Regions from separate parts of the Homo sapiens genome. Here regions 1 and 2 are each linked to region 3. The links are contacts of gene promoters, found by promoter capture Hi-C in blood cells and fetal thymus (Javierre and others, 2016). All regions are on one chromosome and are shown on one strand. The core of a region is centred on a gene start or on the middle of the fragment in contact, and the rest is flanking DNA. Distances in the headings are between cores, read along the strand shown.

What was found. The method cuts DNA at HindIII sites, captures the fragments that hold promoters and counts their contacts. A CHiCAGO score of 5 or more calls a contact.
Region 1: a contact is called between a fragment that was not itself captured here and the fragment with the promoter of FGB in region 3, in 5 of 17 cell types (total B cells, naive CD4 T cells, total CD8 T cells and 2 more). The highest score is 6.0, in total B cells.
Region 2: a fragment that was not itself captured here is called in contact with the fragment with the promoter of FGB in region 3 in 3 of 17 cell types (naive CD8 T cells, monocytes and naive B cells); the score reaches 8.0 in naive CD8 T cells.

Annotation. Positions count from the first base shown.
Region 1 is chr4:155,400,419-155,404,769 of GRCh38, forward strand. No RefSeq gene overlaps it. Among named protein-coding and RNA genes, the nearest start is that of MAP9, 26 kb to the left of the region's middle. The HindIII fragment of the contact is 3,059 bases long and covers 722-3,780 here.
Region 2 is chr4:155,330,564-155,335,163 of GRCh38, forward strand. No RefSeq gene overlaps it. Among named protein-coding and RNA genes, the nearest start is that of MAP9-AS1, 21 kb to the right of the region's middle. The HindIII fragment of the contact is 3,552 bases long and covers 1,026-4,577 here.
Region 3 is chr4:154,561,318-154,565,740 of GRCh38, forward strand. FGB (fibrinogen beta chain) reads left to right here and starts at 1,694. Exons shown (of 8, transcript NM_005141.5): 1 at 1,694-1,815. The coding sequence starts at 1,702. The HindIII fragment of the contact is 2,847 bases long and covers 1,544-4,390 here.

The sequences.
Region 1 (4,351 bases), core at 1,001-3,500, 840 kb after region 3:
TCCTTCAGTCTGAGCCTATCCCACAGCCTGGCACAGAGTAAGCTTTTCATGTTCCTCGGGCCTGTGCACGAAAATGCTCCCACCACTGCTGTTGGTGTTTGGATGCACACAAGCTGGAAATACTAACGGAAGTGCCTGAGGCAGAGGGGAGGAAGGAGGGAATAAGCAGACTTTCTCTACTGGAGTGCCTCAGAAACAGCCTCAAGAACCTGGAGATGATGTTGAAACCAAGAATCAACACATAATAGATGAATTCATCTAACTAGAAGAGATTCATTCTAGGTGGAAGGTGGAGAACAAAGTAACACATAGCTCAACGAGTTAATAAGCATTTGGAACAGTGTAAGTAAATACATAGTAAGTATTTATCGAATAAATAAATAAATATGCTGAGTGCTTATTTTATGATGATCACTTTGTATTATATAATCTGTTCATCCTCATAAAACATTATCACCATCTTGCACATAAGAAGCTGTGCTACCAGATTAGGAGATTTGCCCAAGGCCATATAAAACTTGCCCAAGTTCATAGAGCAATTCAGAGACAGAGCTGACAACCCCACTCTCTAAAATAGCTCCATTCAAAGTTGTAAAGGCCATATTCCCTGTCTCCCTTCTCTTCAATGACATGCCACTTGATAGCACTTGATACACTGTGCATTCTGTTTATCTATTTGTCTGTTTTCTCTCACCACAATATAAATTCTCTAAGGGTAAGAAGCTTTATTTAGTTCACTACTCTTTTCCAGAGCCTAGAATAGGGCCTGCCATGTAAACGGCACTTAATGAATGCTTACTGAGTGTTAAAAGGATGAATGAAGGGATTATTTAAGAATCCTTATTTTGGCCAGTTGCCATGGTTCGTGTCTGTAATCCTGGCATTTTTGGGAGGGTGAGGCCAAGGCCAGGAGTTTGAGACCAGTCTAAGCTACATAGCAAGACATCGTTGCCACAAAAAATTTACAAATTAGTCAGATGTGGTGGCATGCATCTGTAGTTCTAGCTACTTTGGAGGCTGAGGCAGGAGGATTGCTTGAGCCCAGGAGTCTGAGGCTGCAGTGAGCTTTGATTGCACCCCTGCACTGCAACCTGGGCAACAGAGCCAGACTCTGTCTCTTAAAAACAAAAAAAAAAGTTTCTCCACCTCTAAGGGGCAGTTCTGTAAACTTGTGGCTGACAGATCACTCAAATCCAGGCAAGTAGCTTTTAATTAATTGAACCAGGATTGGACCCAGAGCCAGCGTTCTTAACTAACCCCTGTAGTTAACTCTCAGAAAAGTCCATGTTCTAATTCCCAGAACCTGTGAATGTGTTAACTTGCATTTCAAAAGAGACTTTGCAGGTGTGATTAAATTAAAGATCTCAAAATGGGGAGATTATGGATTATCAGAGTGGGCCCAGTGTAGTCACAGGGGTCCATACAATTGGAGTACAAGAGGGTAAGAATCAGAGAGGAGGTGTGACCACGATGGAAGCAGAAGTTGGGGTGATGCAGGGTCATGGCCCTTAGAAGCTAGGAAGGAGCAGGGAACGGATTCTCCCCTAAAGCCTCTAGAAGGAGTGCATCCCTGCTCATGCATTTCAGACTTGTGGTCTCTAGAACTGTCTGGAGATGGTGTTGTAAGACAGTAAATGACTATGGCAGCAATCAGATATTCATATAACCCCTACACTATATTTTCATATACCTGACTTTTTCAGTCAAGATTCTGGTGCTCAGAATGGGAAAAACATACAACTTTATGTTAATAAGTTGTATTTCTGTTGGTGCCTCCTACACATGGCAGGGAAGCAGGATTGATTATGGCCTGTGCAATTAATATTTTAACCTAGAGAAAAAATGGGAGAAAGCAGGAAATGTAATTAGACTGTGCCAAAGAAGTGTAATTTTGACAGTTGAGTTGGAAGATGAATGGTGGTTGTGGGGAGAAGAATTTGAAAGGAGGGTAGACAAAAAAAAATCACCCAAAAAGCTGTGGCATTTGCTCAGGAGAGATATGACATGCAGATGAAATTAGGCAATATCAGTGAATATAGAGAGGAATAGATACATTTTTAAACTATGGTAAATAGTACGATTGAAGTGTGTGCCGGGTGCAGGTAAAAAAGGAAGAGGGGACAGCATGATGTCAGACTGGGACTCCCTGAGTTGGAGGTGCCTGTGATATATGGGAGTGGTTGAGGGGCTGAGATTATAAGGGGAGTGAATACAGAAGGGAGCAGAGGATAGGACCCTAGGAAGCATCTATCAAGTTATGGGCAGAGGTTGTACGTAGCACAGAAAGGCAAGAAATTGCCAGGGAAATAGGAAGAGAACCAAAGAGGAGAATGGCTCACCAATAAGGGAGTGGCTCATGCTGCCTGTTAGTCAAGTAGAGAAGCAAACTAGATTTTTCCTTAGGAGGTCACTGGGATCTGTACCATGCCTAGGTAAGAGCAGTTTCAATAGAGGGATTAGAGAGAGGTGTGCTGGATCTCACACCTACTCAGCAGAGGCCCTTGTGCACTGGAGCTCATACCTACTCAGGAGAGTCTCTTGTGCACATCCAAGCCCAGCTCTGCATTCAATGACATCAGCTTTAGATCAGTGATGGTGGAATTACTTGAAATCAGCAAATGCTACAATGCTACAAATCAGGGTGTTCCCTTCTCACATCCTTCCCCATCCCAAGAGTTAAACATTCACCAGCTTCAACTGGGAGAGAAGAAAGCTGAAGCATGACTGATTAAGTCTGCAAGTGAATGGGAGATAAGGAAGTGGGGCTGAGGGAGTTCATTATCTTTCCAGACGTGAGTGGTGAAGGGAAAGCGCACAGTACAGTCACATCTTAAGACCCAGATAGGTTTGAAAGAACATTGCTTTTTCCTGGAAATGTCCCAGACAAGATTGATTATATAGCCTCTATTGTATCACTGAAGTTTTAAGGAATCTTTACTTTTAATGGCATCTCACATATATAAAACCACATTATTGTTATGTAAGAAATTAACCCAGTGCTTTCCTTCTTTCCTGATCGATTAGCACACACTGTCTTTTTGCATCATTTCTCCCATGTGTAGCTCCTCTGTTCATCCACCTTTCTGGAATTGCTTGGCTCCTTCCTGCTTTGTACATGATCCCTTTAAGACAAATCTAGTTTCACACACGAATGCAAATATACTTTTAGGCACTTTTTTGAAGAAGGATACAAGTGGATGCCCAGTTCTCTTTGTTTGTATGTTGGATTTCTGATTAAGATTTCCTAAATAAAGGGCCCCAAACTAATGTTTGAAAAAAAGGGGGGGGGAGGGTAAACATAGTTTCAAGTTTTTTTAATCACTTATTTACACGTTACTCTTTATTCAAATTGTTCTATTTTATCTGTTATCATTATATGCATTTGTAAGATTATGAGTTTTTGTGGAATTAAAATCCAGCACTGAAGAAAGCCCAGGCATTACTTAGTGGGAATTTCTTTGTAAAAAAATAATCCCATTCAGGATTCTCAAGGGAAGTCCAGAGCCCGACTGTAGGTTAATGAGAATAAAAGAAATGATTTAGCACGTGCATACAGCTAATTTGGCGTCAGCATTGTGCTCATGTAAGGATGTAATTATTCTTTTGTCTCTTCTGGGAAGCCCAGAGTATACGTTAATAATCAAGTTCCAGAAGATGGCAGCAAAGGATTTACTATCCAGAGGAAACATGAATGTAATCATTAGTATTCTTGAGATACTTCATTTTGCTTATAGTGATTAAAAGTTACATTGAAACAAAGCTATTTACATCATTTAATAAAGCTTTTTGAATGATTAGCTTTTTCTTTATATTAGAAAGTAGAAATTTACTAGTTTAATGTGTCAAGAAAATATTGTTTAAATCCATGTTTTTAAAAGACTTAATGTAAGCTGCTCACCTCCCAATCCTTTCCCCACCCGCCCAAACTCAACCAGGATCATTGTTCATAGTTAGGGTTCTTTCCCATACTTTTATCCTCTATGCACAAAAATGGTCATATTACATATATTATTCTATAACCTGGTCTTGCCATTTGAAAATCTTTCCATGTTAATCAAAAACTGAATTGTGCATTATTTTATGGTTATATAATTTTATGTATATATTTATAAGTATGGTTGTTTTCAGGTTGCATGAGCAGCCTTGTGGTACATGTAGTTGTTTATTTAGAATACATCCTAGAGGTAGAATAATCAGGTTAAAGTATATGAAAATTAACTGCAGTTATCCTTCCTGCCAAAATGCCTTCCAGGAAAGTCTTTACAATATACATTCCTGTGAATATCATGAGAATGGTTTTTTACCTAAATTTACTCATTAGATACCCTTATTTCACGCTTAGAAGATGGAA
Region 2 (4,600 bases), core at 1,552-4,051, 770 kb after region 3:
TATACATATACACATAATATAAATATTTAGCAAAATAGAAAAATTTGACAAATATACATTAAAAACTCTACTTGTTACTTATGGAAGAGACTGGCTATCTACCACATCTGTTTCCCTTTCCTTCTGGGTCCACAGCTATCTTATGTGCCTTAAAGTAAGGTATTGCAGGTATGGAGTTCCTGCCACTGGCATGAGTAGCATGAATGTGTGCTGCTTCTAGATCTGGCAGGTGAAAACCTTCCATGAATTCCTCTACCTGTTCTGTTTCCACCCTGCCAGCTCAATGTTGGGAGTCATTTTCCAAAGAATGGCAAGGCTCTGATCATTGGAGACTCAGAAAGGTGGAGGGATGGCAGAAGGGTGAGGGATGAGAAATTACCTAATAGGCATAATGTACACTATTCAGGTGAAGATTCCACGAAAAGCCTAGACTTTACTGCATGCAATATGTTCATGTAACACAATTGCATCTGTATCCCTGTAATCTCTTAAAAAAAAAAAAAAAGAATGGCAGGGCTCAAATCTGACTGCAGGAACTGAGTGCTACCACTACCACCATCTCCACCCTTGGTTTTGTTTCCTAGAGTTTTAAGTACTTGAAAAATATACTTCTATTGCATTAAGGCCATTGAAATTTGGAACGTTGCCTATTGTAGTAACTAGAGTTACCTTGACTAATACACTGCTGAATCCAAATGGTGTATACATTATGGAACACCAGTTTCAAGTTTTTGCTGAGTGTATGAATAGAATAAGAGTGTGTCATTCAGAATTTTCTTTGGTTCCTCGTAATAGAACACCAGTTGCCAGCAGCTTTAAAACCTAGTTGTTTATTTTTATTATAAGAATGTAGGTCCAGAAATAGCAGTTGTTGCTTTATTTCAGCAGTCAATATATCTGGAATTCCCTTGCTTTTCCCTCATTATTACCATATGACTGCTGTGGTTCCTACCATCATGTCTATGTACAAGGCAAAAAGAAGGTAGAAAACCTCACTGTATCTGTCCTTTTATTAGGAAATTCAAAGCTTACTTAAACTTAGAAGACAACTCAAGTTGCACTGGCAGAATTGTGTCATCTGGTCACCAATAGCCACAGAAAAGATGCAAAGTCAGCATTTGACTGGGCACCTTATTGCTCTAGACATAACTATGGTTCTGTTATCAAAGAAGAATTGAGGAATGGCTATTGGCTAAGTAACTGACAATGTCTGTAACTTATAGTGGTAACAATGAACTCTAACCTGACTGATTTTTAGTTCAGGCTATTTGTCTATACAGCTGATATCAAAAAACCCAGAAAAGGTCAGAAGGGACTGTGTTTTTACTAAATTCCAAAAGTTAACAGAAATAATTATAGCTCTGAAAAGGCTATAGGTTGTCACATGCTTATAACTTCTGCTTCCACATGGAAAGCCACTTGACATCTGAAAACCCTGCTCTCTGTTCACGGGCTTTCTTTGTTTTTGTTCACCACATGATGAGACAGAGACATAAAAACATTTTATCTGTTAACTTTTAAAATAACTTGAAAGGAAAAGGGAAAGTATATTTGAAATTATTTGGGTTAAATCCTTAAAGTCTCTAATATACTATATATTTAATCACGTTTTAATGTTTTCATTTTCTTTTTCAACTTTTCTTTTAGGTACAGTGGGTACATGTGCAGGTTTGTTGCATGGGTAAATTGCAACAAACCTGCACATAGGGTTTGGTGTATGAATTATCCCATCACCCAAGTCTTGAGCTTAGTACTTGATAGGTAGTTTTTCAAACCACATCTTCTTCTCTCCATTCTCCTCTAGAAGTCCCCGGTGTCTATTGTTGTCATCTTTATGTCCATGTTTACCCGATGTTTAGCTCCCCCTTATAAGTGAGAATATGCAGTATTTGGCTTTCTGTTCCTGTGTTAATTCATTTAGGGTAATGGCCTTCAGCTGCATCCACGTTGCTGTAAACTAGTTAATTTTTGTTGTTGTTACTGTTGTTGTTATTGTTGGAGACAGAGTCTCACTCTGTCACCTAGGCTGGAGTGCAGTGGTGCAATCTTGGCTCACTGCAACCTCTGCCTCCCAGGTTCAAGTGATTCTCCTGCCTCAGCCTCCTGAGTAGCTGGGACTATAGGCGCATGCCACCATGCCCGGCTAATTTTTTGTATTTTTATTAGAGACGGGGTTTCACCTTATTAGCCAGGATGCTGTCAATCTGACCTCGTGATCCACCCGCCTGGGCCTTCCAAAGTGCTGGGATTACAGGTGTGAGCCACTGCGCCCGGCTCTAAAGTACATAATTTTATTTCTTTTTATGGCCACATAGTATTTCATAGTGTATGTGTACCACATTTTCTTTAACCACCATTGATGGGCATCTAGGTTGATTTCATGTCTTTGCTATTGCGAATAGTGCTGCAATGAATAGACAAATGCAGGTATCTTTTTGGTAGAATGATTTATTTTCCTCTGGTTATATACCCAGTAATGGGATTGCTGGGTCAAATGATAGTTTTATTTTAAGTTCTATGGGAAATCACACTGCTTTCCACAGTGGCTAAACTAATTTGCACTCCCACCACCAGAGTATGTGTTCCCTTTTTTCCACAACCTCACCAACATCTGTTATTTTTTGACTTTTTTTTTTTAATAATAGCCATTCTGACTGATGCGAGATGGTATCTCGTTGTTTTGATTTGTATTTCTCTAATGATTAGTGATGTAAAGCATTTTCTCATGTATTTGTTGGTTGCATGTATGTCTTCTTTTGAGAAGAGTCTGTTCATGTCTTTTGCCCATTTTTGGATGGAGTTGTTTGTTGTTTGCTTGTTGAATTGTTTAAGTGCCTTAGAGATTCTGGATATTAGACCTTTGTCAGATGCATTGTTCGCAAATATTTTCTCCCATTCTGTAAGTGTGTTTACTCTATCGATAATTTCTTTTGCTGTGTAGAAGCTCTTTAGTTTAATTAGGTCATGCTCATAGATAGAAAGAATCAATATTGTTAAAATGGCCATACTGCCCAAAGCAATTTATAGACTTGGTGCTATTCTTATCAAACCACCAATGTCATTTTTCACAGAATTAGAAAATAATATTATAAAATTCATATGGAATCAAAAAAGAGTCTGAATAGCCAAAGCAATCCTAAGCAAAAAGAACAAAGCCAGAAGCATCACACTACTGACTTCAACCTACACTAAAAGGCTACAGTAACCAATACAGCATGATACTGACACAAAAACAAATACACAGATCAATGGAACAGAATAGGGAATCCAGAAACAAAGCCACACACCTACAACCATCTGATCTTTGACAAAGTCGACAATAACAAGCAATGGGGAGGGGACTCCCTATTCAGTGAATGGTGCTGGTATAACTGGCTAGCCATATGCAGAAGATTGAAACTGGACCCCTTTCTTTCACCATGTTAAAAAAGTAACTCAAGATGGACTAAAGATGTAAGACCTAAAACTATAAAAGTTTCATAGAAGAAAACCTAGAAACACCATTTTGGACATCAGCCTTGGCAAAAAATTTATGACAAAGTCACCAAAAGCAATTGTAACACAAACAAAAATGGACAAACAGGGCCTAGTTTTAATTTTTAATTAAATTAAAACAGGTAATAGTCTTGTTTAGTTTGAGTGTTTAAGTACAATGAAGAACACATCGACTTGTTTTCTCATCTTATTGGGAATTTCTAAATAAGCAACTCTGCTATATGACTCATTAATAAAACATATACTTTTGCCCTGTGAAAAACACCTTGAAGCTGCTTTTATATATTTATGACAGATTTCACTTGCTGTCATGACTCATGGATGGTAATAATTATAATTTATTTGAAGGTCATTGTTTTCTTTTCTTAGTATGGGGGTAGTTTTAAATGAGACATTCAATCTAAGCTGAAAATTTTAATGTACTATATATATATATCTGGAGTATTTATATTTTCTATTTATTTTCCTTGTAAGTATTTTCTTCAATTTAAAAATTATTATGTGTAAGTATATTTGCATAATATATTTTCTGTGATTACTTGTTCATTTATAGTAAATTATAATTATTTTAATGAATTTTCATATAAACATATTTGTTACTTAGGGAAATTTATCCAAAGCCTTGAATTTTTTGTTTGTAAATATTCCAAACAAACATTAATTATTGCCAACTTTTACAGCTGGTCAATATTTTTTTAGCAAGAGCAGAAATTTATACCATTGTCCTGAAAGGACCTTAATAGATATCAAGTAGTCTGCATGATATACAGACATTGCATTTCAACTTTATAACTCAATATTATGGTTTCCTTATTATATTGTGCTTGCTAAAGGGGAAAATACTAACATTATTGTCAGCATGGCACACATAATTTTCACCTAAATTAGTTGATTTCTGCAATGCTACCATATCTGCTGCCTGTAAAAGCATAGGAAGCATAATTCCATTTCATTTTTTATTAAATGATTGTTGCAAATAAGTTATAAATTCTTCTATCTTAAAAACAAATAAAGCCAGCCTTGACCCCATATCCCCTTCATCTATGATTCCCTCTCCAATTTTCTTTGTTCCTTGTTAGCAAAGCTTATCGAAAAGTGGCCTATA
Region 3 (4,423 bases), core at 444-2,943:
TAGAAAAAACTTTACAAATTTACAGACTTCTGAAAGTTAAATGATGATTCTATTGTTAGTTGATCAAACATCAGTCATTGAAAATGTAGTAATACGTTACCTCAAAAGAAAAAAAAAAGGTTAGAGTTTTCTTAACAGATAATTCTTTTTAAATCTGTAAGAATCTGTACGTCACTAAAATAAAATCCTGTCTAGATTATTAAAATAAACTTTGTTATCAGTTATATTTTCATGGAAAATATTCCTGTATATATTTTAATTAATAGCCACATAGATATTTGCTTTTTCTGTCAGATCATGTATCCCTTTAAAAACCATTAAAGCTAAAGAAAAAAATCTTAAAATATAATATTTACTCATTGCTAATAAAGGGAACACAAATTTGGAAAGACTCAAGTGAATATTTTTTCTTAATTTAAACTGAGTACTTTGTCTCTATTAAGCTAAGTTAAAAGAATTTGGGAGGACAACCTATGCTACCAAGAGAATAATTTGTTTCTAGGAATCTGAGTTAAAAGAATTTGGGAATGCAATCTCTGCTACCTGGAGAAGAAAGAAATGTCGTGGGTCCCACACCATTCTCAAGACTCTGTTTCAAAGCATTGTTTCAATACGCTGATCCAAACCCTGATAACCTGCCATCTTTTTAATAAAATAATTTATAAATTTAATGAGAATGTTTCACTTTCCATACAAAAAACAGAAAAATGCTTTGAATCAATGCACTTACTGGGATTTGGATTACTGACTGGTGTTCCTATTGATTCTTGTAGGAGTTATTAATCCTGATTGCAACACACAAGTGAACAGACAAGAGAGATAAATTTTGTGGCTTGTGGGAAATGAAGGAAAATGGGCCTCATTTAGTCTGTGAGCATACTAATTGAAATAGATGTATGAAGACTTCACCAGTGTTAAAATAACATTGTTTTTATAAATCATATGATATAAACTATATAACAATAAAATAGAATGTTAAACATGTATTTAATCATCATCATAATTTTGATTCAGAAATCTATAATTTATTAGTTATCTTAATAATGTTTAGAATTTGTTGAACATTTTACCTTATGTGAATTAAGGACAAAATATTAAAGCTATTCAGCACAAAAAAAGGGTCTTTCTGATGTGTATTTTTCATAGAATAGGGTATGAATTTGTTATTTTGTTATTTTGATTAATGTCTAAAACAAAAGATAAACACATTATGATATAACATTACTATTGATTTTAATGGCCCCTTTTGAAATAGAATTATGTCATTGTCAGAAAACATAAGCATTTATGGTATATCATTAATGAGTCACGATTTTAGTGGTTGCCTTGTGAGTAGGTCAAATTTACTAAGCTTAGATTTGTTTTCTCACATATTCTTTCGGAGCTTGTGTAGTTTCCACATTAATTTACCAGAAACAAGATACACATCTCTCTTTGAGGAGTGCCCTAACTTCCCATCATTTTGTCCAATTAAATGAATTGAAGAAATTTAATGTTTCTAAACTAGACCAACAAAGAATAATAGTTGTATGACAAGTAAATAAGCTTTGCTGGGAAGATGTTGCTTAAATGATAAAATGGTTCAGCCAACAAGTGAACCAAAAATTAAATATTAACTAAGGAAAGGTAACCATTTCTGAAGTCATTCCTAGCAGAGGACTCAGATATATATAGGATTGAAGATCTCTCAGTTAAGTCTACATGAAAAGGATGGTTTCTTGGAGCTTCCACAAACTTAAAACCATGAAACATCTATTATTGCTACTATTGTGTGTTTTTCTAGTTAAGTCCCAAGGTGTCAACGACAATGAGGAGGTGAATTTTTTAAAGCATTATTATATTATTAGTAGTATTATTAATATAAGATGTAACATAATCATATTATGTGCTTATTTTAATGAAATTAGCATTGCTTATAGTTATGAAATGGAATTGTTAACCTCTGACTTATTGTATTTAAAGAATGTTTCATAGTATTTCTTATATAAAAACAAAGTAATTTCTTGTTTTCTAGTTTATCACCTTTGTTTTCTTAAGATGAGGATGGCTTAGCTAATGTAAGATGTGTTTTTCTCACTTGCTATTCTGAGTACTGTGATTTTCATTTACTTCTAGCAATACAGGATTACAATTAAGAGGACAAGATCTGAAAATCTCACAAACTATAAAATAATAAAAGAGCAGAATTTTAAGATAAAAGAAACTGGTGGTAGGTAGATTGTTCTTTGGTGAAGGAAGGTAATATATATTGTTACTGAGATTACTATTTATAAAAATTATAACTAAGCCTAAAAGCAAAATACATCAAGTGTAATGATAGAAAATGAAATATTGCTTTTTTCAGATGAAAAGTTCAAATTAGAGTTAGTGTGTATTGTTATTATTAATAGTTATGAAACACGGTTCAGTCTAATTTATTTATTTGTAGAACAGTTTGTCCTCAACTATTATTTTTGCTGACTTATTGCTGTTAATTTGCAGTTACTAAAAATACAGAAATGCATTTAGGACAATGGATATTTAAGAAATTTAAATTTTATCATCAAACGTATCATGGCCAAATTTCTTACATATAGCATAGTATCATTAAACTAGAAATAAGAATACACAATAATATTTAAATGAAGTGATTCATTTCGGATCATTATTGAGTTTCAAGGGAACTTGAGTGTTGTACTTATCAGACTCTACATGTAAGAACATATAGTTAATCTGGTTGTGTGTGTAAAAACATATGGTTAATCTGGTTAAGTCTGGTTAATCATATTAGGTAAGAAAAATGTAAAGAATGTGTAAGACGAAATTTTTGTAAAGTACTCTGCAAAGCACTTTCACATTTCTGCTTATCAACTAAACCTCACAGAGATAGTTTAATAGTTTAGGCTTTAAAATGGATTTTGATTATTCAACAAGTGGCCTTCATAATTTCTTTAAGTGTTTTTCTTTAAGTATATACTTTCTTTAAATATTTTTTAAAATTTCCTTTTCTCTAGTAAAGCCAGACCATCCATGCTACCTCTCTAGTGGCACTCTGAAATAAAAAGAAAATAGTTTTCTCTGTTATAATTGTATTTGTAATAAGCAGATGAATCACATTTCTTAAAATTTGTTTTAGAGAGGGTAAGCTCTGACTAGGACCATGACTTCAATGTGAAATATGTATATATCCTCCGAATCTTTACATATTAAGAATGTATATAGTCAACTGGTTAAACAGGAAAATCTGGAACCAGCCTGGCTGGGTTTTAATCTTAGCACCATCCTACTAAATGTTAAATAATATTATAATCTAATGAATAAATGACAATGCAATTCCAAATAGAGTTCATCTGATGACTTCTAGACTCACAAAATTGCAAGAGAGCTCAGTTGTTGCTCAGTTGTTCCAAATCATGTCGTTTGTTAATTTGTAATTAAGCTCCAAAGGATGTATAGCTACTGACAAAAAAAAAAATGAGAATGTAGTTAATCCAAATCAAAACTTTCCTATTGCAATGCGTATTTTCTGCTTCATTATCCTTTAATATAATATTTTAAGTTAGCAAGTAATTTTAATTACAATGCACAAGCCTTGAGAATTATTTTAAATATAAGAAAATCATAATGTTTGATAAAGAAATCATGTAAGAAATTTCAAGATAATGGTTTAACAAATAATTTTGTTGATAGAAGATAAGACTAAAAGTGAAATTCGAAGTGGAGAGGACACTTAAACTGTAGTACTTGTTATGTGTGATTCCAGTAAAAATAGTAATGAGCACTTATTATTGCCAAGTACTGTTCTGAGGGTACCATATGCAATAAGTTATTTAATCCTTACAATAATCTTGTAAGGCAGATTCAAACTATCATTACACTTATTTTACAGATGAGAAAACTGGGGCACAGATAAAGCAACTTGCCCAAGGTCTCATAGCTGTAAGTCAACCCTACGGTCAAGACCTACAAGTAGCCGAGCTCCAGAGTACATTATGAGGGTCAAAGATTGTCTTATTACAAATAAATTCCAAGTAGAATCAACCTTTAATAAGTCTTTAATGTCTCTTAAATATGTTTATATAGGAGTCTAATCACCAATTCACAAAAATGAAAGTAGGGAAATGATTAACAATAATCATAGGAATCTAACAATCCAAGTGGCTTGAGAATATTCATTCTTCTTGACAGTATAGATTCTTTACAATTTCGTAAGTTCCAATGTATGTTTTAGGAATATGAGGTCATTACTATTCATAATCTGATACAGCTTTATCCTAAGGCCTCTCTTTAAAAACTACACTGCATCATAGCTTTTTTGTGCAGTTGGTCTTTCTACTGTTACTGAACAGTAAGCAACCTACAGATTCACTATCACCAACCAGCCAGTTGATGGATCTTAAGCAAATTATCAAGCTTGTGATAACCTAAATTATAAAATGAGGGT